6 separate regions of the Homo sapiens genome follow, and regions 1, 2, 3, 4 and 6 are each linked to region 5. The links are contacts of gene promoters, found by promoter capture Hi-C in human tissues and cell types (Jung and others, 2019). All regions are on one chromosome and are shown on one strand. The core of a region is centred on a gene start or on the middle of the fragment in contact, and the rest is flanking DNA. Distances in the headings are between cores, read along the strand shown. Region 1 holds the start of LRFN4 (leucine rich repeat and fibronectin type III domain containing 4). Region 2 holds the start of AIP (AHR interacting HSP90 co-chaperone). Region 3 overlaps RBM4B (RNA binding motif protein 4B). Region 4 holds the start of RAD9A (RAD9 checkpoint clamp component A). Region 5 holds the start of KDM2A (lysine demethylase 2A). Region 6 holds the start of RBM4 (RNA binding motif protein 4).

Region 1 (3,176 bases), core at 1-2,500, 260 kb before region 5:
CATCCAACTCTCCTGGCCTACAGGAGGAACTTGTTTTCAGTGGTCAGGTAACGTGCCCAGGACTACACTGCTGTGCTGACAGGATCAGAATTCCAATCTTGGGTTTCCCCGAGTTTCCTGCCACCTGGCCCATGGGGATCAGGGCTGGAGGGAGAACGAGGATGGCTGAGGTTTAGGTGGCTTAAGGACCAGGAGACACGGGGAGGTGGTGACTTCCTGTTTCCCAACTGGGCAGACCACTGGTGGTGGCGGGCACAGCTGGAAGGAAACCAGGCTCGCCGAGCCACCGAAGCCCCAGCTTTCTCAACCAGGAAGCAAAGAACCTCCCCCACCTCACGCCGGGAGCCCTTTCTCTGAGAGGAGCTGGTTCCGAGCCGCTCTTCCAGGGAAATGGCCCGGCGGCGACAGAGCGGGAGGGAGGGGCCGCAGGCGCTGCGAGGACGCACAGCTTCCCAATGCGTGCCCCCGGCGGTTGGGAAGCCGCGCCGCGCAGACCAATCCGGCCCGAGGCGGAGGCCGGTTGGCTCCGGAACGCCTGGCCCGCGGGGCGGGCGGGGCAGCTGGGGAGGGAGGGAGAGGCGAGAGGCAGCTGGGGACAGGGCGGGGCGGCGGGGGCGGGGCGCCTGCCCGGAGGCCAAGCCCTCTCGGCCCCACCCCGCAGCAGCCCTGCCAGGGGCGCCGCCCCAGCCCCCCCCACGGCCGAACCCCGTGCCGGTTGGGGACCCTCCACGTGACTCGGTGATGCAGAACGGTTATGACCTTCAGCGTGTGTCTGTGAACGCAAGGGTCCCAGCAACAGTGCGGGTTTGCGCTCGGCCCTGCCCGTGGGTGCAGGGACGTGTGGGTGTGTGGGCATGTGTGGGTGTGTTGGGGAGGGTGCCCAGCGACATGTGACAAAGACGCCCGTCTCCGGGAGATGGTGAAGGGGCCCGCGAGCAGGCGCTTTGTCTGGCTGTCTGCAGAGTGAGGTTCGCGCCGCGGCGGCGGGCGCCCGTGCGGTGCAGGATGCCGGGGCGCCAGGATGGCCGGGGGCGCGCGCGCCTGTGCCAGGGTGAGTGCGCTGCGGCAGCGCCGGGGGACAGCGCGGAGGGCCCGCGCCGGCCCGGGCCTCGGGCGTGACTGGGCGCCACCCGTGGGCGCTGCAGCGGCCGCGTGTCCCCGTGACCTCAGGAGCCGGCCCGGGCCCGGGTGGATCCCCGCGCGCCCCTCCCCGTCCGCCCTCCACGTGCGTGTCCGCGGCGCGCGCGCCCGCCGGCGCGCACCCGCTCGCCTGTCGCCGCCGCCACCGCTAACCGCGCCGGGAAAAGGTGCCGGGAACCGAGCGAGCCGGGGCCGCGGGCCCGAGCGCCATGGGCCCGAGGGTGGGCGGCGGGCGGCCGGTCATCCCCGGGCCTCGTCCCCGCGGGAGAGCGGCCAGGAGTCGGCGGGGGCCGGCCGGGCTCGCAGGGAGGCCGGCCCGCGCCCCCTGAGCGACGGACACCAGGTGAGGGGGCCGCCGGGCGCAGCGCGGGGGCCGGCCAGGGAGGGGCCACGGACTCCACGGGAGGTTCGGGGGGCGCCTTCTCTGGCGGGGGAGGGTATGGCGGGGAGTGGGGAGGCGGCTGGCGATTCCTGGGGACGCCTGGGAAAGGAAGTTCCGGGACCCTCCCTGCTCTCGGTCCTCCTCCGCTTCCTGCCTCATGCCTCACCTTGTCCCCAGCGCCTGGACTCCCCCTTAACTGCTTGGGAAATGTGACCTTTGCTCTGGGGGGCCTGGCCCTGCAGGCCCCAACCTTCCCTCATCTCTGGCGGCCCTCTTGGGCCTCTGACCCAGCCCCTCCCCGGGCCAGGCTCACAGAAGCTGGCTTCTGGGACTGTCCTGGGCCCAAGTGGGCACCTGCGCCAGCCCCACCTGTGCCTGGGCTGTGGCCCCTTCCTACAGGGCGCTCACCATGGCCCCGCCGCTCCTGCTGCTGCTGCTGGCCAGTGGAGCGGCCGCCTGCCCGCTGCCCTGCGTCTGCCAGAACCTGTCCGAGTCGCTCAGCACCCTCTGTGCCCACCGAGGCCTGCTGTTTGTGCCGCCCAACGTGGACCGGCGCACAGTGGAGCTGCGGCTGGCTGACAACTTCATCCAGGCCCTGGGGCCCCCTGACTTCCGCAACATGACGGGACTGGTGGACCTGACACTGTCTCGCAATGCCATCACCCGCATTGGGGCCCGCGCCTTTGGGGACCTCGAGAGCCTGCGTTCCCTCCACCTTGACGGCAACAGGCTGGTGGAGCTGGGCACCGGGAGCCTCCGGGGCCCCGTCAATCTGCAGCACCTCATCCTCAGCGGCAACCAGCTGGGCCGCATCGCGCCGGGAGCCTTCGACGACTTCCTAGAGAGCCTGGAGGACCTGGACCTGTCCTACAACAACCTCCGGCAGGTGCCCTGGGCCGGCATCGGCGCCATGCCTGCCCTGCACACCCTCAACCTGGACCATAACCTTATTGACGCACTGCCCCCAGGCGCCTTCGCCCAGCTCGGTCAGCTCTCCCGCCTGGACCTCACCTCCAACCGCCTGGCCACGCTGGCTCCGGACCCGCTTTTCTCTCGTGGGCGTGATGCAGAGGCCTCTCCCGCCCCCCTGGTGCTGAGCTTTAGCGGGAACCCCCTGCACTGCAACTGTGAGCTGCTGTGGCTGCGGCGGCTGGCGCGGCCGGACGACCTGGAAACGTGCGCCTCCCCGCCCGGCCTGGCCGGCCGCTACTTCTGGGCAGTGCCCGAGGGCGAGTTCTCCTGTGAGCCGCCCCTCATTGCCCGCCACACGCAGCGCCTCTGGGTGCTGGAAGGCCAGCGGGCCACGCTGCGGTGCCGGGCCCTGGGTGACCCCGCGCCTACCATGCACTGGGTCGGTCCTGACGACCGGTTGGTTGGCAACTCCTCCCGAGCCCGGGCTTTCCCCAACGGGACCTTAGAGATTGGGGTGACCGGCGCTGGGGACGCTGGGGGCTACACCTGCATCGCCACCAACCCTGCTGGTGAGGCCACAGCCCGAGTAGAACTGCGGGTGCTGGCCTTGCCCCATGGTGGGAACAGCAGTGCCGAGGGGGGCCGCCCCGGGCCCTCGGACATCGCCGCCTCCGCTCGCACTGCTGCCGAGGGTGAGGGGACGCTGGAGTCTGAGCCAGCCGTGCAGGTGACGGAGGTGACC
Region 2 (3,219 bases), core at 131-2,630, 360 kb after region 5:
CTATCACCCAGGCTGGAGTGCAGTGGTGCGATCTTGGCTCACTACAACCTCCATCTCCTGGGCTCAAGCAATCCTCCAGCCTCAGCCTGCTGAGTAGCTGGGACCACAGGCGTGCACCACCACACCACCTAATTTTTTGTATTTTTGGTGAAGATGGTATTTTGCCATGTTGTCCAGGCTGGTCTTGAACTTGTGAGCTCAAGGAGATCCAGGAGATCCACTTGCCTTGGCCTCCCAAAGTGCTGGTATTAGAGGCATAAGCCACCACACCTGCCCCATACTGATGCATTTTTACATGACATTAGTGAATTCAATTAGCCTAGTATTTTATTTAGAATGTTTCATATCAGCTGGGCGCTGTGGCTCACGCCTGTAATCCCAGCACTTTGGGAGGCCGAGGTGGGCGGATCACGAGGTCCGGAGATTGAGACCATCCTGGCTAACACGGTGAAACCCTGTCTCTACTAAAAATACAAAAAATTAGCCGGGCATGGTGGCGGGCGCCTGTAGTCCCAGCTGCTCGGGAGGCTGAGGCAGGAGAATGGCGTGAACCCGGGAGGCAGAGCTTGCAGTGAGCTGAAATTGTGCCACTGCACTCCAGCGTGGGTGACAGAGCGAGACTCCGTCTCAAAAAAAGAAAAACAAAAGTTGTTTTAGCCCCAAAGTACCTCATTTCTCTTTTCTTTTAATTTAATTTTTTTTTTTTGTTTTGTTTTGAGACAGCATCTCGCTCTGTCGGCTAGCCTGGAGTGCAGTGGCACGAACACGGCCCACTGCAGCCTCGAACTCCTGGGCTCAAGCGATCCTCTCGCCTCGGCCTCCCAAAGTGGTGGGGTTACAGGGCCACCGCGCCCGGCGCTAAAGTACCTCATTTCTATCATTCATCGATTATTCCCTAATATTAATTGGGCACAACTATGACTCATTTCCGACCCCGCAATGGGCTCTCTTGGTCTCCTTCTCCACCTTTCTTTCCCTCTTCCTCTTTTTATTTTTTGAAAGAGGAAGATCCAGGATGCAAGAGTCCCGACAATCATACTAGATATGCGAAAGAGAAAAAGCCGGAAGAAAATACACAAAAATCATAACACTTTGAGGGTGTGGCTTACGGGTGTTTTTTTTTTTTTTCATTTTCCTAACTCTGCAGTGCTGTTATATTCCATCCACAACTTCAAACAAAGTGCCACACGGCCGCAGTCCCAATCAATTCAATGACAATTGTTAGGGACGTCCTCGTCCCGCCCGGCCCGCGGACCCCGGCCCTTCCTCCTTGACAGGCTGGGGTCCAGCCCCGAGACATTCCTAGGCTCCGCCCCCGAGCAGACGCGCGCGCTCAGCCCCAGCGCAGAGAACCAATCACCATCCGTTTCCACGCTCAGTCCCTTTTGGCTTCTGCCCTCAACCAAAATGGCGCTAGCTCGGAAGCTGCCGAGGTGCTAGGAGTTGCCGAAGCAAGTCCGGAAGCTACCGAGCGAGTCCGGAAGTTGCCGAAAGGGAGCAGCGGGGAAGGAGGATGGCGGATATCATCGCAAGACTCCGGGAGGACGGGATCCAAAAACGTGTGATACAGGAAGGCCGAGGAGAGCTCCCGGACTTTCAAGATGGGACCAAGGTTCGTGTCTACCCTACCCTTCTCCCCCTCTGCGGCGTGGTGCGCATGCGAGGCGGGAGGAGGCCTTAGGCGAGAGGTTGCGCATGCCCAGAGGGCAGCGTCCACTGCCCCTACCGCTCACATGCAGAACTCGACGCTGATTGGGCTGAATTTAAGTAGGGGGTGAATTCGGGCCTGTCTGCCCCGCCCCCTGGCTCGGCCTTGTAGCAGCATTGGTGGGGGAGGCCGTCAGTCATCACAAGCGGGTTGGGGTTGGGGGTTGATCTCAGTGCTTGGGCAGACCCCACGCTGGAGGAAACCCAGGGCCGGGAGTGGTCCTCGGGTATCTGGGTTTCAAGGCTCATGATCCTTTGTAGATGGAAGGGCCTTCTGAAAACACTTAGACCAACTGCCGCTGTTTAGAGTGGAAAACCAAGACCCTGGGACGTGCAAAGCCGGAGAACGGGCCCAGAGGTCAGGTCTCCCAGACAGGGACTCTTTAGCAGCCTTCCTGCTGCACTAGGGGCTTGTTGGGACAGATGAGGGTTGGGAAGTAAAGAACCTCCCACTTTTCTCCTTTTTGCCAGGCCCCCAGATCCAGCCCCTCTGCCCGCTTCTCCCCCAACCTACAACTCCAGGCTTCCCTGCTTCTCCTGTAGTTGCCTCCTCCCGGAGTGCTTTTCCCAGCTGCCACTTGTTTGCAGAGTAGGGAACCTCCCAGGGGCAGCCCCTGTGCCCAGCAGAGCAGTCAGGCAGGACATGCACATTGAGCAAATGAGCACATGCCCCCTGGCCAGCACCGTGCCGAATCGGGCAGCTAAGCATCCTAGCCCAGTGCAGTATAAGTGCCCTGAGAGCAGAGGGGAGCTGCATGGCTGGAGTGATCCGCTGTATGAAAAGATATCTTCTCTAAGAAGAGACAGGATGTGTGGTGTGGGTTCATGCCCCCATGTGCTGGGGGGTTGGTGGCGTTGGAAGAAGGGGCTGGCAAGGGGGATCCTGGATGGAACAGACATCAGAAGGAGAGATGTGAACAATGGCACCCCAAGATCAGAAACAGGTGGTGTTAAATAACCAATCGCCAGCACTGATTGAGTGCTCACTATTCGAACATTGTGCTACATGCTTCACACGTTTATTTCCTACAATGTGAGATAGGTACTGTTGTTGATTCCGTTTTACCGATGTGGAAACTGACTTCAGAGATGCAGCATGGTGCGGCAGTTAAGAGCGTGGGCTCCTCTAACCATATCCTGTCGAGAGTTCAATCTCCAAACCTCTTTTCTCTGCACCCACCCCCAGTGTTATCTCTAAAAACTCTCCCTGCCCGGATTACTCCCAGATGCAGCTCTCCAGTCATTAACTGTCTCTTAAACCTGATATATAGCTCCCTACTCACCATATCCACCTGGAAGCCTGGTTGGCAACTCACACTTAACCTGCTCCACCTGAGGCTTCTCCGTGTCAGGGGAACCAACAACCTTCCCGTTGTTCAGGGCAAAAACCTTAGCATCTCTGTGGTCCTCCCAGTCTCACATCCAACATCACATCCTCAATATCCAGCCAGGATCTGAGTTCTCACCACTTCTGCCATCACTGCTTGGGTCCAGGCCATCCTCATCTCCAGC
Region 3 (3,192 bases), core at 364-2,863, 450 kb before region 5:
CAGAAACAAAAGTGCTCAGGCTTTATACCTCCAACTGCTAGGAGACAGGCCGCATCCACTATCACCAATAGAGTCAGCAGATACCCAAAATGGCACTAAATCTCTAAAAGCATTTTGCCATCCCATTGTTTTCAGAGATTTAAATGCTCCTAATTGTTAGATGTTAGGGGCCACAATGCTAACTGTGCTTTGAACAGAAACACAGATTTCTGCCACAATTTATATCTCAAATGCATAGTTCCCTATAATTTAGACTAAAAGATTATAAATGACTTGGCTTTCAAATATACATGGTGACATTAAGCTATGTGACAGACACAAAGTATACTCCAATTGTGAAGTCAGAGTGACCATGACAGTCTAAAAAGGAGCCAATCCAGAGACCTAAAAGTAACATTTTTAACAAAAAAATTCAATTAAATTTGCACTTTACTTTTATAGATTCTGGGTCCATTTTTTGGAGAAACAAAACCCAGCAATTTTACCTTGATGTTTTTTAACTAAATCCAATCTTCATTCCTGCTTTTATTTAGAGGGTGGGAAATCAAGTTTATCTGTGGTAAAATCTACCTCTGTGTAGTTGTGAAAAGGATGCAGGTATCAATTTTTTTGTTGCGTTTGTTTGATTTTTGAGACGTAGTTTTGCTCTGTCGCCCAGGCTGGAGTGCAGTGGCGAAATCTCGGCTCACTGCAACCTCCACCTCGCGGGTTCAAGCAATTCCCTGCCTCAGCCTCCCGAGTAGCTGAGATTACAGGCACCTGCCACCATTGGTGTGGTTTTAAAGCAATTTTTGTATTTTTAGCAGAGATGGGGTTTCACCATCTTGGCCAGGCTAGTCTTGAACTCCTGACTTCGTGATCCACCCGCCTCAGCCCCCTCAAAGTGCTGGGATTACAGGCGTGACCACTGCACCCGGCCCAATTTTTTAACCTAGAACTAAAAAAATCTATAATAGGGGTGACGAGTTTAAAAAAATTTTTTCAAACAGTTTCTCCAAGCTGGGTGTGGTAGCTCATATCTGTAATCCCAGCACTTTGGGAGGCTGAGGTGAGCCAATCACCTGAGGCCAGAAGTTCGAGACCAGCCTGGCCAACATGGTGAAACCCCCTCTCTACTAAAAAAATACAAAACATTAGCTGGGCATGGTGGCACATGCCTGCAGTCCCAGCTACTTGGGAAGCTGAGGCACAAGAATCACTTGAACCCGGGAGGCGGAGGCTGCAGTGAGCTGAGATTGTGCCACTGCACTACAGCCTAGGCAATAGAGCAAGACTGTCTAAAAAAAAAAAAAAAAAAAAAAACCCACAAAAAAACCAAAACAACCAGTCCTTCCAACGGTTATAATTAGCCTTTTAATTTATTTTTATTAATTTTTTTGGGGGGGGGGGACAGATTCTTGCTCTGTCGCCCAGGCTGGAGTGCAGTGGCGCAGTCTCGGCTCACTGCAACTTCTGCCTCCTGGGCTCAAGCAATTCTCCTGCCTCAGCCTCCCGAGTAGCTGGGACTGCAGGCGCACGCTACCACACCTGGCTAATTTCTTCTATTTTTAGTGGAGACGAGGTTTCACCATGTTGGCCAGGCTGGTCTCGAACTCCTGACCTCAGGTGATCCGCCTGTCTCGGCCTCCCAAAGGGCTGGGATTACAGGCATGAGCCACCACATCCAGCCTAGCCTTTAAATTTAAATACCCTAAAGTTTTTATAGTAATTGAAAAAGACTATGCCTCTCTATTATTATACCTTAAGGAACCAGGGCAAAGAAAAATGAAAGATTAATTCTTCTACTCTACTACACTTGGACAAAGTAGGCCAAAAGCTTAAAATTTCCTGGGACTTCCAAAAGTTACTGAAGTTTGTTGCCAACATTTTCCAGAAAACCAGCCCTATAAGTGTTTTATTTTGAAAGCTGTAACAGAAAAGAGCATTAAAATGCTGAGAAGTGGGAAACTTGGGGTCTTAATTTCTGAGCGCCTATCAAGTGCCATGATCCAGAAAAGACTGGGGATGTAGCTAATACAGAGTAGTATTCTGACTTAATGCTTGTTTACATATAGGGAAAAAAAAAAAAGACACCTGAACTCTCACACATTCTTCCCAATTAAGCTGCCTGATTGTTATTTGGGAATAGCTTCTTTAGGTCTTCCAATACAAACTATGTGTCTAAGGAAATAAGTTGAGTTCACTGCTGGCTGTAAAAAGGAAACAGATCCTGAAAGAGTAAAGTAAACTCAGATTCCGCTACTTCCTTTTAGAAGTCATACAATGCAAAAAGCCTCAATGGCAGCCATTAACATATAGAAATAAAGGTTCAAAAGATGTTCAAGTGGCACTTTTTTGTTGGTTCATTTTTGAGACTAAGTCTTGCTCTGCTGCCCAGGCTAGAGTGCGGTGGCACGGTCTTGACTCACTGCAACCTCCGCCTCTGGGTTCAAGTGATTCTCCTGCCTCAGCCTCCTGAGTAGCCGGGATTACAGGTGTGTGCCACCATACCTAGCTAATTTTTGTATTTTTAGTAGAGACAGGGTTTCACCATGTTGACCAGGCTAGTCTTGAACTCCTGACCTTAGGTGATCCACCCCCGCCTCGGCCTTCCAGAGTGCTGGGATTACAGGAGTGAGCCACCTCACCCGGGCTCAAGTGGCCCTTTTAAGAGGCCACCTTCATTAGTAGACAACTGAAAATAACTTAAATTGAAACGTGTCAAACTGGTATCCAGACTGTATTTTCTGTAAAACTACAACTTACTATCCAGTGCTAAGCTTGCTCTTGTCATCTGGGAGAAAAAAAACCAGAGCTAGTTATAAAAACGTCTCTATAACTAGGAGGAGAGTGCTATCTCCAGAGGAGCCAAGTTAAGAACATGAAAACCAAATACAGGATTTTTCTTTTCCAATTCATTTTAGTGTTTGCACTTTCTAAGGAAGTGATGTTTTTAAAAATCTTATGGATCCACTGCATTATTCAGATACATCCTAAAGTAATTATACCTGCCTTATTAAAACACATATTCATCCTAAGCCAACTCCCCCCAATTAACTGATTTTTTTTTCTTTTTTTTTTTTTTTTATTAACTTCAGGTAGCTTTTCTTTTTCTTTTCTTTCTTTTTTTTTTTTGAGATGGAGTCTTGCTCTGTCCCCCAGGCTGGAGTACAGTGGCATGATCTCGGCTCACTGCAAGCTCTGCCTCCTGGG
Region 4 (3,387 bases), core at 853-3,352, 270 kb after region 5:
GAAGGGAAGAGTAACCTCCTCCCCCAAGGCTCCACGGAAGGGGCAAGGGCTGGTGACGAGGGGAGCAGAAGGGAAGGAGAGGGAGAAACAAAGTGTATGCATGTATCCAAATGTGTACAATTATTATGTATCAATTCAACTCATTTGAAAGTGGGTCTGGAGAGCAAGGGTGGCAGAGATAAATATATCTTCTGCACTACCACAGGACCTGAGGGGCAAGGCACGGGCAGGCCCTGCAGGAATACAGGGATGCCCTGGGCCCTTCCAAGAACTACCAGAGCCTTGGTACTGTGGGGAGAGTAGGGGTCAGTGAGTTTCTCCAGGACTCCCTTACATTTTACACACGTGGACCCGGAAGCCCAGGGGAAGGGGAATACCTTCCAGCTGATGCATCCCCACCTGGCACACAGTCTGGTTTTTTTTTTTGAGATGGAGTCTCACTCTGTTGCCAGGCTAGAGTGCAGTGGCGCGATCTCGGCTCACTGCAACCTCCGCCTCCGGGTTCAAGCAATTCTCCTGCCTCAGCCTCCAGAGTAGCTGGGACTACAGGCGCGTGACAACATGCCCGGCTACTTTTTGTACTTTTAGTAGAGACGGGGTTTCACCATGTTGGCCAGAATGGTCTGGATCTCTTGACCTCGTGATCCGCCCGCCTCGGCCTCCCAAAGTGGTAGGATTACAGGCGTAAGCCACCGTACCCGGCCAGTCTGGGGTCTTTTAAAAATACAGACCCGGGGCTGGGCGCGGTGGCCCATGCCTGTAATCCCAGCACTTTGGGAGACCGAGGCGGGCGGATCACTTGAGGTCAGGAGTTCGAGACCAGCCTGGCCAACATGGTGAAACCCGTCTCTACTAAAAGTACAAAAATTAGCCAGGCGTTGTGGCAGGCGCCTGTAATCCCAGCTACTTGGGAGGCTGAAGCAGGAGAATCGCTTGAACCTGGGAGGCGTGATCGTGCCACTGTACTCCAGCCTGGGCGACAGAGCGAGGCTCTATCTCAAAACAAACAAACAAAAAAACCCCACACACACACACAAAAAACAAAAAACAGGCCGGTGCAGTAGCTCACTCCACTTTGAGAGGCCAAGGCGGAAAGACAGCTTGAACCCCACAGTTGAGACCGGCCTGGGCAACATGGCAAGACTCCGTCTCTACCCAAAAAAAAAAAAAAAAAAAAAGGGCCGGGCGTGGTGGGTGTGCCTGTGGTCCCAGATACTCAGGAGACTGAGATGGGAGGATCCCTTGAGCCCAGGAGTTCCAGGCGGCAGTGAGCCGTGTTCGCGCCACTGCACTCCAGCCTGGGTGACAGAGCAAGAATATGTCTCAAAAAACAAACAAACAAAAAAAGGCACATAACCACGATCTACCCTCGTAAAACGTTTCCAGAGCGTCCCAGCGGTGCCCCTCATCATCTGGCGGCCCCTACGCCTCTCTGAGACTCACAGACCTACTCCCCTCTCCAGGGGGCGGAGCCCACACCGCTGAGCATTTACTCTTGTTCTTCCCTCTGCCAGGGGCACCGTTCTACCCCTTTCTGCCTGGAGAAACTGCCGTTTTTCCTTAAAGGATCCTCGAAGCCGGAAGGAGCAGCCACCTCCCACTCCCGGCTGCTGCAAGCAAGCTGCTTTGACTTCTTTCTAGAGTTGGGGATTGCTGCTGGAGTCCGAGTCTCAGGCCCAGAGTGGGTGCGATGGTCTTGCTTGCACCCTGTATCCCCCGGCAGACGCCCGGGAACTCTACTAAGTGGGTGACCCCAGAGAGCTCGCCCCCACACTCCGACTCCGAGTCCAGCACTCGGTCCACTGCACAGGGACCTCGCGCCCCACAGCTGCGTCCTCTCTGACCTTCGCAATCCGGTGCGCGGCCCGCGGAACGCCCCGATCTCCAGGGGCACGGAAGGCCGAGGCGTGCCGGGGGAGCCAGGAGCAGCTGGCTGGCGGGCGCCGCGGGCCTCCCCGGTCACGTGACACCCCGGACAACGTGCGCCGTCACGTGACGGCAGAGCCTGTGAGCGTTTTTCTCACGTGACGGAGGCGCCTGCACGTGGACCAATGGGGAGGCGGGGGCGGGGCCGGCAGGGGCGGTGCGCGGGAAGGGACCCCGGACCCGGAGGTCGCGGAGAGCTGGGCAGTGTTGGCCGCTGGCGGAGCGCTGGGGCAGCATGAAGTGCCTGGTCACGGGCGGCAACGTGAAGGGTGAGTGCAGGTCGGCCTGGCAGCGGCGGTGCAGCAGCCGCGGAGCCGCCAGCCTAACCCCCTTCCGCTCTTCTCCCCGCAGTGCTCGGCAAGGCCGTCCACTCCCTGTCCCGCATCGGGGACGAGCTCTACCTGGAACCCTTGGAGGACGGGGTGAGGGGCTAGGGTGTGGGGGGCGGGTGGGACTCCAGCCGGGAGCGGGTAACCCGGACTAGAGTCTCGCCCCCACTAGGCGGGATGACCGCTGGCAGATTTGTCGGCAAAGTTTCAGTTTCTTAGTCTGGCGGCTGTCATCTTCCCAGGCCGGTGTGTGAATTGAGGAAAGCTGTCCTGCGAGCTCCCAGGGGGTGACGTGCACTTAGAGAAACTCGGGGAAGGCCTGGGTGTGCGACCCCTCCTCTGCGGCAGCAGCGCCGGGGCCGACTCTGAAGGCTTCCATGGGGAAAGGAGGGTTTTTCAGCAGGTGGTGGCGGAGCGGGAGGACGATAGGGCAAGTGTGTGAGCAGAAGCAGCCAGAGGGCTGGGTCTGTGGCTGCCCCCTGACCACGTCCCTCTCCCTGCTCTTCGTGGCCCAGCTCTCCCTCCGGACGGTGAACTCCTCCCGCTCTGCCTATGCCTGCTTTCTCTTTGCCCCGCTCTTCTTCCAGCAATACCAGGCAGCCACCCCTGGTCAGGACCTGCTGCGCTGTAAGATCCTGATGAAGGTGAGGCCCTTCCCTCAGCAGTGGCACTACTCCACCCCAGGAATCTCCACCAGCTGTGCCTCTGCCCTGGGGTACTCAGTAGATGCTAAGTGGGGAGAGAGACACGTGCAAGCCCAATCCATGCAAAACACAGGGAGGGCCATGGTAAAAGCATCACAGCGGGGACCTGAGAGGGTGGTGACGCTCAAGTTCGTCAAGAAAGGTAAGCACGTCTTTTGGCCGGGCGCGGTGGCTCACGCCTGTAATCCCAGCACTTTGGGAGGCCGAGGCAGGCGGATCACGAGGTCAGGAGTTCGAGACCAGCCTGGCCAACATGGCGAAACCCCGTCTCTACTAAAAATACAAAAATTAGCTGGGCGTGGTGGCACGCGCCTGTAATCCCAGCTACTCGGGAGGCTGAGGCAGGAGAATTGCTTGAATCCGGGAGGTGGAGGTTGCAGTGAGCTGAGATCGCACCACTGCACTCCAGCCTGGGTGACAGAGCGAGA
Region 5 (3,294 bases), core at 258-2,757:
TTTAGAATTTAAACGGGCCCCAGAGCAAGAGATTGGCTGGGGAAATGCCCGGATCGCGGCTGGGCTGCTCGCATGGCACTGCTCGGGTACCTCCGGCCGGGCTCCGTCGACGTTCGGAGCCTGCTGGCCCGTCGGGCAGCTGTCGGGCCGCGGGAGTCGGTCCGTGGGCAGGGCCGGCGCAGCTCGGGCGGCTGCTGCCCCGTCGCTGACCCCCGCGCGAAGCTGCGCGCACCAACAGGAGACATCTTCCCGGCCGGGCCTCCCGCGCCCGCCACGGCCCAGGGCGGCAGGGTCGGGCCGGGGGCCGGGGGCGGCCCGCGCACCCCTCCGTGGGGGGCGCCCCGACTCGCCGGGGGCGGGGTCACGTCCCACCCGGGCCGCCGGGGGCACCGGCGCGGCGGAAAGCTGAGCGTGGCCGAGGAGCGGGGGCTTCCTGGGCCACCTCGCCGGGCGCCTCCGGCCGGCGGTGGGCGCGCCGGCCGCCACCGCCCCCGGGCCGTCGCGGAGACCGCTTCTGCGCCTGGTACCTGTGGACGCCCTTGTTAAGCGCCTGCAGCACCCCCGGGGAGCCGAGCCCAGGACAGACATGCTACTCCTGTTTCCTGCCCCTTCGGAGCGACGAGCAGTGGGTGAGGCGGGGCCAGGCCGCTGCACCGAGGAGCCCCCGGGCCCAGGGCAGACGGGCCCCGTGGCGGCGGCGCCGGGGCCTGCCCGGGAATGGCGGGCAAGCCGGCCTCGGCCCACCGGCCGGCACGCGAAGGGAGGGCAGCCGGCGGCCATGCGCCCCTTCCCTGCGCCCTCTCGCCCTGGGCAGGCCTGAGCCGGGAGCCCAGGTCCCGCGGGCCCAGCCCGGCGGCTTGACCCCGGGAGACCCTGCTTTGAGGCGGGTATCGGTTGCCCTGGCCCAGGCCTCCCGGCCCTCAGGTTGTGTGACTGTGACGGGCAGCCTGGGGCCAAAGGCGGTTGAAGGGGAAGGGGACGCAGATCTCCCACTGCTTGGGGGGGGTGATGTGCTTTGTGGGGGGTCGGGGGTCACCACCCTCCCAGGGGGGTGGGGGAGGGCGGCCAGCACAGCTGGCCGCGAGGGGCGGGGTCGCAGAGGCGAAGTGTGTGTGAGGGTGTGTGGGGGGAGGGCGCGCGGAGGAGGATCGGTGCCCTGCGCGCAGGCGCGAGCAGCCAGCCAGGCCCGAGCCCTGGAAGAACGCCGACGGGGAGCGGGGGCGGCGGGCTGGCGGGAGGGAGGGAGGGCGGGCGGCCTGACGCGAGGGGGCGCAGGGAGCCGCGTCGGCGTCGCGGGGCGCGGGCGATTCGAGGCCGACGCATCCGCGCGTGCGCGCGCCGGCGGTGTGTCCGCGTTAGAGGGGAGTGACGCGTGCGCGTTCACGCGCGCCCGGGAGAGCGGTAAGAAGCGCAGGGAGGCCTGAAGGGGGTGGGGGGGTGGAGAGGCGAGCTGGAGGAGGGGTGGGGAGGTGGCGCCTGCGCAGTGCGCCTCGGAGGAGCTGTGTGTATGTGAGAGTCTGACGGGTTCAAAATGGCGGCGGCTGCTTCAGCGGCTCCTCCTGTGTGAGGGAAACAACACCCCTCCCCGGCAGCGGCGGCGGCGGCGGCGGCTCTCGGAGCACCTTCCCAGCGGCTGGGCCCGTGGCCGCTCTGTCTTTCCTGGGCAGGGGACGCTCCGGGAGGAGGGGCAACGCCAGGGGGCCCATCCCCCGGAATCCCTCTTCTGCGACTGGGGAGTAGCCGGGGGGCTCGTCCCGCAGCGCGGAGCCAGACCTGAGGGGGAGACGCGAGGGGAGCCAGGGCCCCCATCCCGGCGCGCCGCGCCGCTCCCGCCCTGTCCGCCCCCCGGGGCCGGGGCCCGCGTTCCGGGGGGCCGGGGCGGCGCGGGGAGCCTCGGGCCGGCCGGTCTCAGCTGATCGGCCGCTGCTCCCGCAGGCGACCAGCCCCTGCTGGCCGAGGGCACGGCGAGGAGGGCGCTCCCTGCGGCCGGGGCCGGCCCGGGGCTCGGGCCCGGGCTGCTGACCGCTGGCCTGGGGGAGGCGGGGGCGCCCCGGGCTCGGCGCCGAGGGGTCGCGCTCCTCTCTCCTGACGCCTCCGACTCCCGGTCTCCAAAGCCAGAAGAGAAGGTTTGATTCAGCAACTGTTTGCTCCCTTTTCCTGGTCGCTCTGACCCTCTCTGGATACTGGGTTGATCCACGGAAAAACCGAAGACGACGTTTGGGATTTAATTATTCCTCTCAGCTTTGGAATCTTTTACTTCTCACTTGGACAAGAACTCAAGAGCAGAATCTCCGGTGAGTTTCCCCCTCCCCCCCCTCATTTGGAAGTTTGGTTGACTGTGTTATCCAAAGACTGAATGCAAAGTTTCTATCTCTTTTTCCGATGGGTGAACCATTGAAACGCCTTTTCCTGGGGGAGCCCAGCGAGATTCGCCCTTTTTCCTCTCCGGCCCTGGCTGCTCCATGCCCAGGCGGTCGTCGCCCAGGGGGTGCAAGCACGGTTTCCCTCCCGACTTCGGGCCAGGGCTTCCTCCGGGAGGGCTCTGCCTCTAACTGCTCTGCAAACTGTGTCATCGGGTCCTCTGGTCTCGTAGCAGTTTTGAAAGGATGCTGTTAACGTGGCTGTAATGTAGTGACAAAAACGGGGGGAACCTGTGTTCTCAATGGAAGCCATTATCCACGAGAATATTTAGAAAAAAGAAAACCCTTTCTTGGTATTACGGATTGACCGTCGCGCCGGCCGGTCTTTTATTTAATTTTTGGACAAGATGTATTTTCCTTGTATCCTTAGATGCAATCGTTTATTTTATTACTTTATCCAAAAAGATCAGATGGAATTTTGGTCCTTGATTTGCACCTCTGAAATTTGTTTCAGAGTTGTGCACATCTTGTGTTGGGGTGGAGGGTAGATTTGGGAATGATAAGATCCGGGGAGTCTAGAAAGGAAGGCGACGATTGTGCACGGCCTTACAGGAGGGGTATGGGAAATTGTTTTGGGGTCATTTAAATCCTAATTTTTTGTCCTCTTTTTACATAGTCAGTTTGCCCTTCTTTCCTTTAGTTTCTGATTACCGGTGAGAGAGAACTAATTTGGTTAGGATCTGGATTAGTTCAGTGGTGCTTCACCTGGTCAGCTCTCTGGAGATAAAAGTCCTGGGCTTTTTTTTTTTCTTGCTGATGCTGCCATGAAGGAGATCCTTGCTAGTTGTAATCCTGTGGGGAGAAACTGGTGGTGTGGCCCTTCCACAAGGAACTGAAACCAACATCTCGTTTCGTCTAGGCCTCCGACAGTTGT
Region 6 (3,383 bases), core at 178-2,677, 480 kb before region 5:
GACCCTCTGGAGAATGTTACTTTGTATTTTGTTTACAGCTGGTTGTGACTAAGCTCTGTCCTCTAAAGTCGGTTCTAGGGGATTAAAACAGCTCTGGCTGATGGCGCCCAATAAAATAAAACAAAAAAACCTTTGCTGCTCCAGTTTTTTCTCAGGGTGGGGTCGGGGTATACTTTAAATCTCCATGGTCTCAGAAAGGTTTCTTCATCGCGGACCCTGGGAGGCTGGTTCCCAGAGGGAACTTGTCCTCAGCGTCTCCTGGACAGTGCAGCCTCCTGCCGGGCCTACTTCTGGAAGGCCATTACAGAGGTCCTTTCACCACCTGTGAGAGGTTTGATTTTGGGGGAGCTCCGGGACTCTCAAGGCTACAGTGTGGACTGCTGGCCCAAGGAGAAGGTTGGTTTCCTGAAGTGGTGGGTGGTGGGTTGGGGGGGGTCTTCGTTGTTTTTCTTCCCTGGCATGTGCCTGCATAAGCTATTTCCACAGCGTCCTGGCCGCGAGGGGGGGTGGTGCTTGGGAGGTTAGAGGGAGACACCTAGAGTGAACGGCAAAATGGAGCGCGGAATACTGTCTGGCTGTGCACGTGGAGGTGGCGAAATGTGGAAGCTTAACGAAGTTGGCGCCATGAAGCTAAAGACTGCTACCCCGGGGCTCTAGCTCGCTCCGCCTAATGGCGGGCCGCACCCCGCCGGCGAAGCCCACGTTTGTAGGTCCGCCCTCACGCTGATCTCTTGCCCAATCAGCGAGTTCGGCTTCGCGAGGTTGGTGCCCATTGGCTTTCGCATAAAAGCTCCGAGGTTACAGACGTTTCCACCTCTTGCCGGCCTCTTAGGTAATTGGCGTCCGTGGTAACCAATCAGGAAGAGGATCTGAGGGAACGCCGGCCTTTTACTTTCTTGAGTGGCCAATCCGGTTGTAGGCTCACCTCCCCCTTCTACTCAGAGCACTGCTGCGGCCGCCGCCATTTTAGCGTTTTGTCAGAAGCGTCCGCGCCGCGAGGAGGAGGCCCTGCTGGTTTCTGTGCGGGTGAGACTCCGAGCCTTTCCACTGCCTTTCTTGTACTGTGTTAAATCTTCTCTCACTCCCTTGGGCTTCGGGGGTGTCCTGGTAGGTCCGCAGTCTCCACACCCGTCACTGAGAGCCGACCTCGGTCCTCGGCATTGCGCGGTAAGCCGGGAGCAGCCCTTCCCCCACCGCCCCCTGAGAATACCTTGCTTTTTTTCGCCCACCCTGTCCCGCGCCCGACATGGCTGCTCTTGGAGCCTCGAGATTTCCACTGGGATAACCCCCTTTCCCTTATATCTGACAGTTACATTCTCGTTTCGGGAATTTCTCGGGCCGTGAGACATCGTCTGGTTAATGAATCTGAAGCTCTTTTCCGCGGCCGCGCATTTCAGTGTTCGGCAGGAGCTAGGACGGTGCCCCGAGAGAGGCGTTCACCACTCCAGTATTTCCTTTATCTCCCACTCCTCGCTGTCTGATCCGAGTCGCGCGTTCATTACTTCCAAAGGAAACTCAAATGTAGCTATTACAAGGCCCATTTTCCCGGAAATGATGGCTGCTTTGGTTCCTACGTGAGGAAAAGCCTGTTGATAATTTCAGGCAGGCAGTCAGCAAGCCTAGTAGACTTTTGTTTTCTGTTGTCCTCCTAGTGGATAGAAAAGCCTAGTACCCCCATTTCTTCATATGCTGTCTTTCATGCCCATTTCTGTTGGAAGGTATCGGTTCTTACCAAACCCTTTGTCTACTAAGGACCTCCCTATTGCAGACGTCTTCTTATTCTTACAGGTTCATGGCGGCTACTATAGCAGGCCTTAGTTCACTCCCACTTCCATTTGATTATTGTGTGGAGGTGTGTGTGCAGGCGTGTGAGAGAGAAAACTGGAAATATACATTAGAGTGAAAGTCGTTGTCTTTTGTGAACGGATGTGGGCCTGAGGTCTTTTGTCAGATGTCTTGTTTTTCTCTCCCAGGCTCTTGTCAGGATGGTGAAGCTGTTCATCGGAAACCTGCCCCGGGAGGCTACAGAGCAGGAGATTCGCTCACTCTTCGAGCAGTATGGGAAGGTGCTGGAATGTGACATCATTAAGAATTACGGCTTTGTGCACATAGAAGACAAGACGGCAGCTGAGGATGCCATACGCAACCTGCACCATTACAAGCTTCATGGGGTGAACATCAACGTGGAAGCCAGCAAGAATAAGAGCAAAACCTCAACAAAGTTGCATGTGGGCAACATCAGTCCCACCTGCACCAATAAGGAGCTTCGAGCCAAGTTTGAGGAGTATGGTCCGGTCATCGAATGTGACATCGTGAAAGATTATGCCTTCGTACACATGGAGCGGGCAGAGGATGCAGTGGAGGCCATCAGGGGCCTTGATAACACAGAGTTTCAAGGTGAACCACCCTCTTTGGGTAGAGGGCTGAACACAAGGCTGTGTGCAGAAAATGGTTGGATAAGTAAAAGGAGAGGTTTGGTAAAGATAACAGCTGTTGGCTGGCTGGTGATGAAGAAATAAGTGTGGGTGATGGACTTCTTATGATGTAGAATGCATGGGACTTAGGGGCTTTACCTTAGGCAAATGTCTCCTGGAGAAAAGCCACTCACCTTTTATTTGGAGCCCCTACGGCTTTTGTGCTTATCAGTGCAGAAACCCTTTTCTTTGAAGGCTTTCTGAGTTACTGGGCCTTTTTTATTTTTTATTTTTTTGTAGTAGAGCACAGTTCAGAGTTCCTCACTCTGAATTTATTGCCCTCAGCACAGGATCAGAATTCTGCATTTTACGTGAAGAACCTCTCAAAAACATGTCAAGCGACACTTATAGGACCAGAATCCTTGTTAAGCTGTCCTACCTTACACAAACTCTTTAAAGGGTTACAGCTCTTGTTGCTTTTATATTATACCTGTACCAAGGGATTGTATTTTGAGTTTAAGGCCACTCTAGAATTACAAGGCTGATTTTAGGACTTCCTGGGGAGGAGGCACTGGGGTTTTAGGGGCGGTAATGACTGTCTTTTCATTGGTTTGGGGGGCTGGACTTTATAAGATTTTGGTGAATAGAGCACTTAGATTTGTGTTATCTTGGAGTCTTAACCAAATGAATCTTTTGTGCCTGGAGGGCAGCATGGGTGATATGTGGATTGTCACTTCATTTGGAAGCATCTCAAATCCCCAGCATTTTGAATGCCTACATGTTGCTCAAAGGAAATGCTTGTTAGAGCATTTTGGATTTTGAATTTTCAGATTTGGGATGCTAAAATGGTACGTAGAACGCAAATATTCCAAAATCTGAGGTCTGAAGCAACAGTGGCAGTTCAGGGGTGGTGATCATGGTGAGTTGCTATCTGAACTCTTCTTTCACCTCCTTTGGGTTCCCAGTGTC

Evidence for each region. The method cuts DNA at HindIII sites, captures the fragments that hold promoters and counts their contacts. A contact is called where the count stands out against the background at its distance.
Region 1: a contact is called between the fragment with the promoter of LRFN4 here and the fragment with the promoter of KDM2A in region 5, in 1 of the 25 tissues and cell types used here (dorsolateral prefrontal cortex).
Region 2: the fragment with the promoter of AIP here is called in contact with the fragment with the promoter of KDM2A in region 5 in 5 of the 25 tissues and cell types used here (dorsolateral prefrontal cortex, heart left ventricle, hippocampus and 2 more).
Region 3: a contact is called between a fragment that was not itself captured here and the fragment with the promoter of KDM2A in region 5, in 2 of the 25 tissues and cell types used here (dorsolateral prefrontal cortex and hippocampus).
Region 4: the fragment with the promoter of RAD9A here is called in contact with the fragment with the promoter of KDM2A in region 5 in 1 of the 25 tissues and cell types used here (dorsolateral prefrontal cortex).
Region 6: a contact is called between a fragment that was not itself captured here and the fragment with the promoter of KDM2A in region 5, in 1 of the 25 tissues and cell types used here (dorsolateral prefrontal cortex).

The regions. Positions count from the first base shown.
Region 1 is chr11:66,855,814-66,858,989 of GRCh38, forward strand. It overlaps LRFN4 (leucine rich repeat and fibronectin type III domain containing 4), which reads left to right and starts at 1,251. Exons shown (of 2, transcript NM_024036.5): 1 at 1,251-3,176. The coding sequence starts at 1,932. The region is part of intron 12 of PC (pyruvate carboxylase); the gene reads right to left. RefSeq lists silencers at 337-866, 1,027-1,136. The HindIII fragment of the contact is 20,544 bases long and covers 1-3,176 here.
Region 2 is chr11:67,481,646-67,484,864 of GRCh38, forward strand. AIP (AHR interacting HSP90 co-chaperone) reads left to right here and starts at 1,381. Exons shown (of 6, transcript NM_003977.4): 1 at 1,381-1,612. The coding sequence starts at 1,514. RefSeq lists an enhancer at 1,223-1,282. The HindIII fragment of the contact is 17,225 bases long and covers 883-3,219 here.
Region 3 is chr11:66,671,128-66,674,319 of GRCh38, forward strand. The region is part of intron 2 of RBM4B (RNA binding motif protein 4B); the gene reads right to left. Among named protein-coding and RNA genes, the nearest start is that of RBM4B, 5.2 kb to the right of the region's middle. The HindIII fragment of the contact is 6,507 bases long and covers 1-3,192 here.
Region 4 is chr11:67,389,884-67,393,270 of GRCh38, forward strand. It overlaps RAD9A (RAD9 checkpoint clamp component A), which reads left to right and starts at 2,103. Exons shown (of 11, transcript NM_004584.3): 1 at 2,103-2,195; 2 at 2,278-2,348; 3 at 2,771-2,899. The coding sequence starts at 2,162. LOC100130987 (a long non-coding RNA gene) reads left to right here. Exons shown (of 4, transcript NR_024469.1): 4 at 1,515-1,804. RefSeq lists enhancers at 1,270-2,185, 2,220-2,724 and a silencer at 1,950-2,319. The HindIII fragment of the contact is 15,866 bases long and covers 1-3,387 here.
Region 5 is chr11:67,117,756-67,121,049 of GRCh38, forward strand. It overlaps KDM2A (lysine demethylase 2A), which reads left to right and starts at 1,508. Exons shown (of 21, transcript NM_012308.3): 1 at 1,508-2,294. It overlaps LOC107984341 (a long non-coding RNA gene), which reads right to left and starts at 593. Exons shown (of 2, transcript NR_160735.1): 1 at 1-593. RefSeq lists silencers at 415-464, 605-884, 1,065-1,504, 1,645-1,714, 1,895-2,034 and 2 more and an enhancer at 945-994. The HindIII fragment of the contact is 11,710 bases long and covers 1-3,294 here.
Region 6 is chr11:66,637,727-66,641,109 of GRCh38, forward strand. All of the region lies in intron 1 of RBM14-RBM4 (RBM14-RBM4 readthrough), which reads left to right. It overlaps RBM4 (RNA binding motif protein 4), which reads left to right and starts at 977. Exons shown (of 4, transcript NM_002896.4): 1 at 977-1,026; 2 at 1,974-2,397. The coding sequence starts at 1,986. RefSeq lists enhancers at 428-1,141, 906-1,275, 1,142-1,853. The HindIII fragment of the contact is 5,623 bases long and covers 1-3,383 here.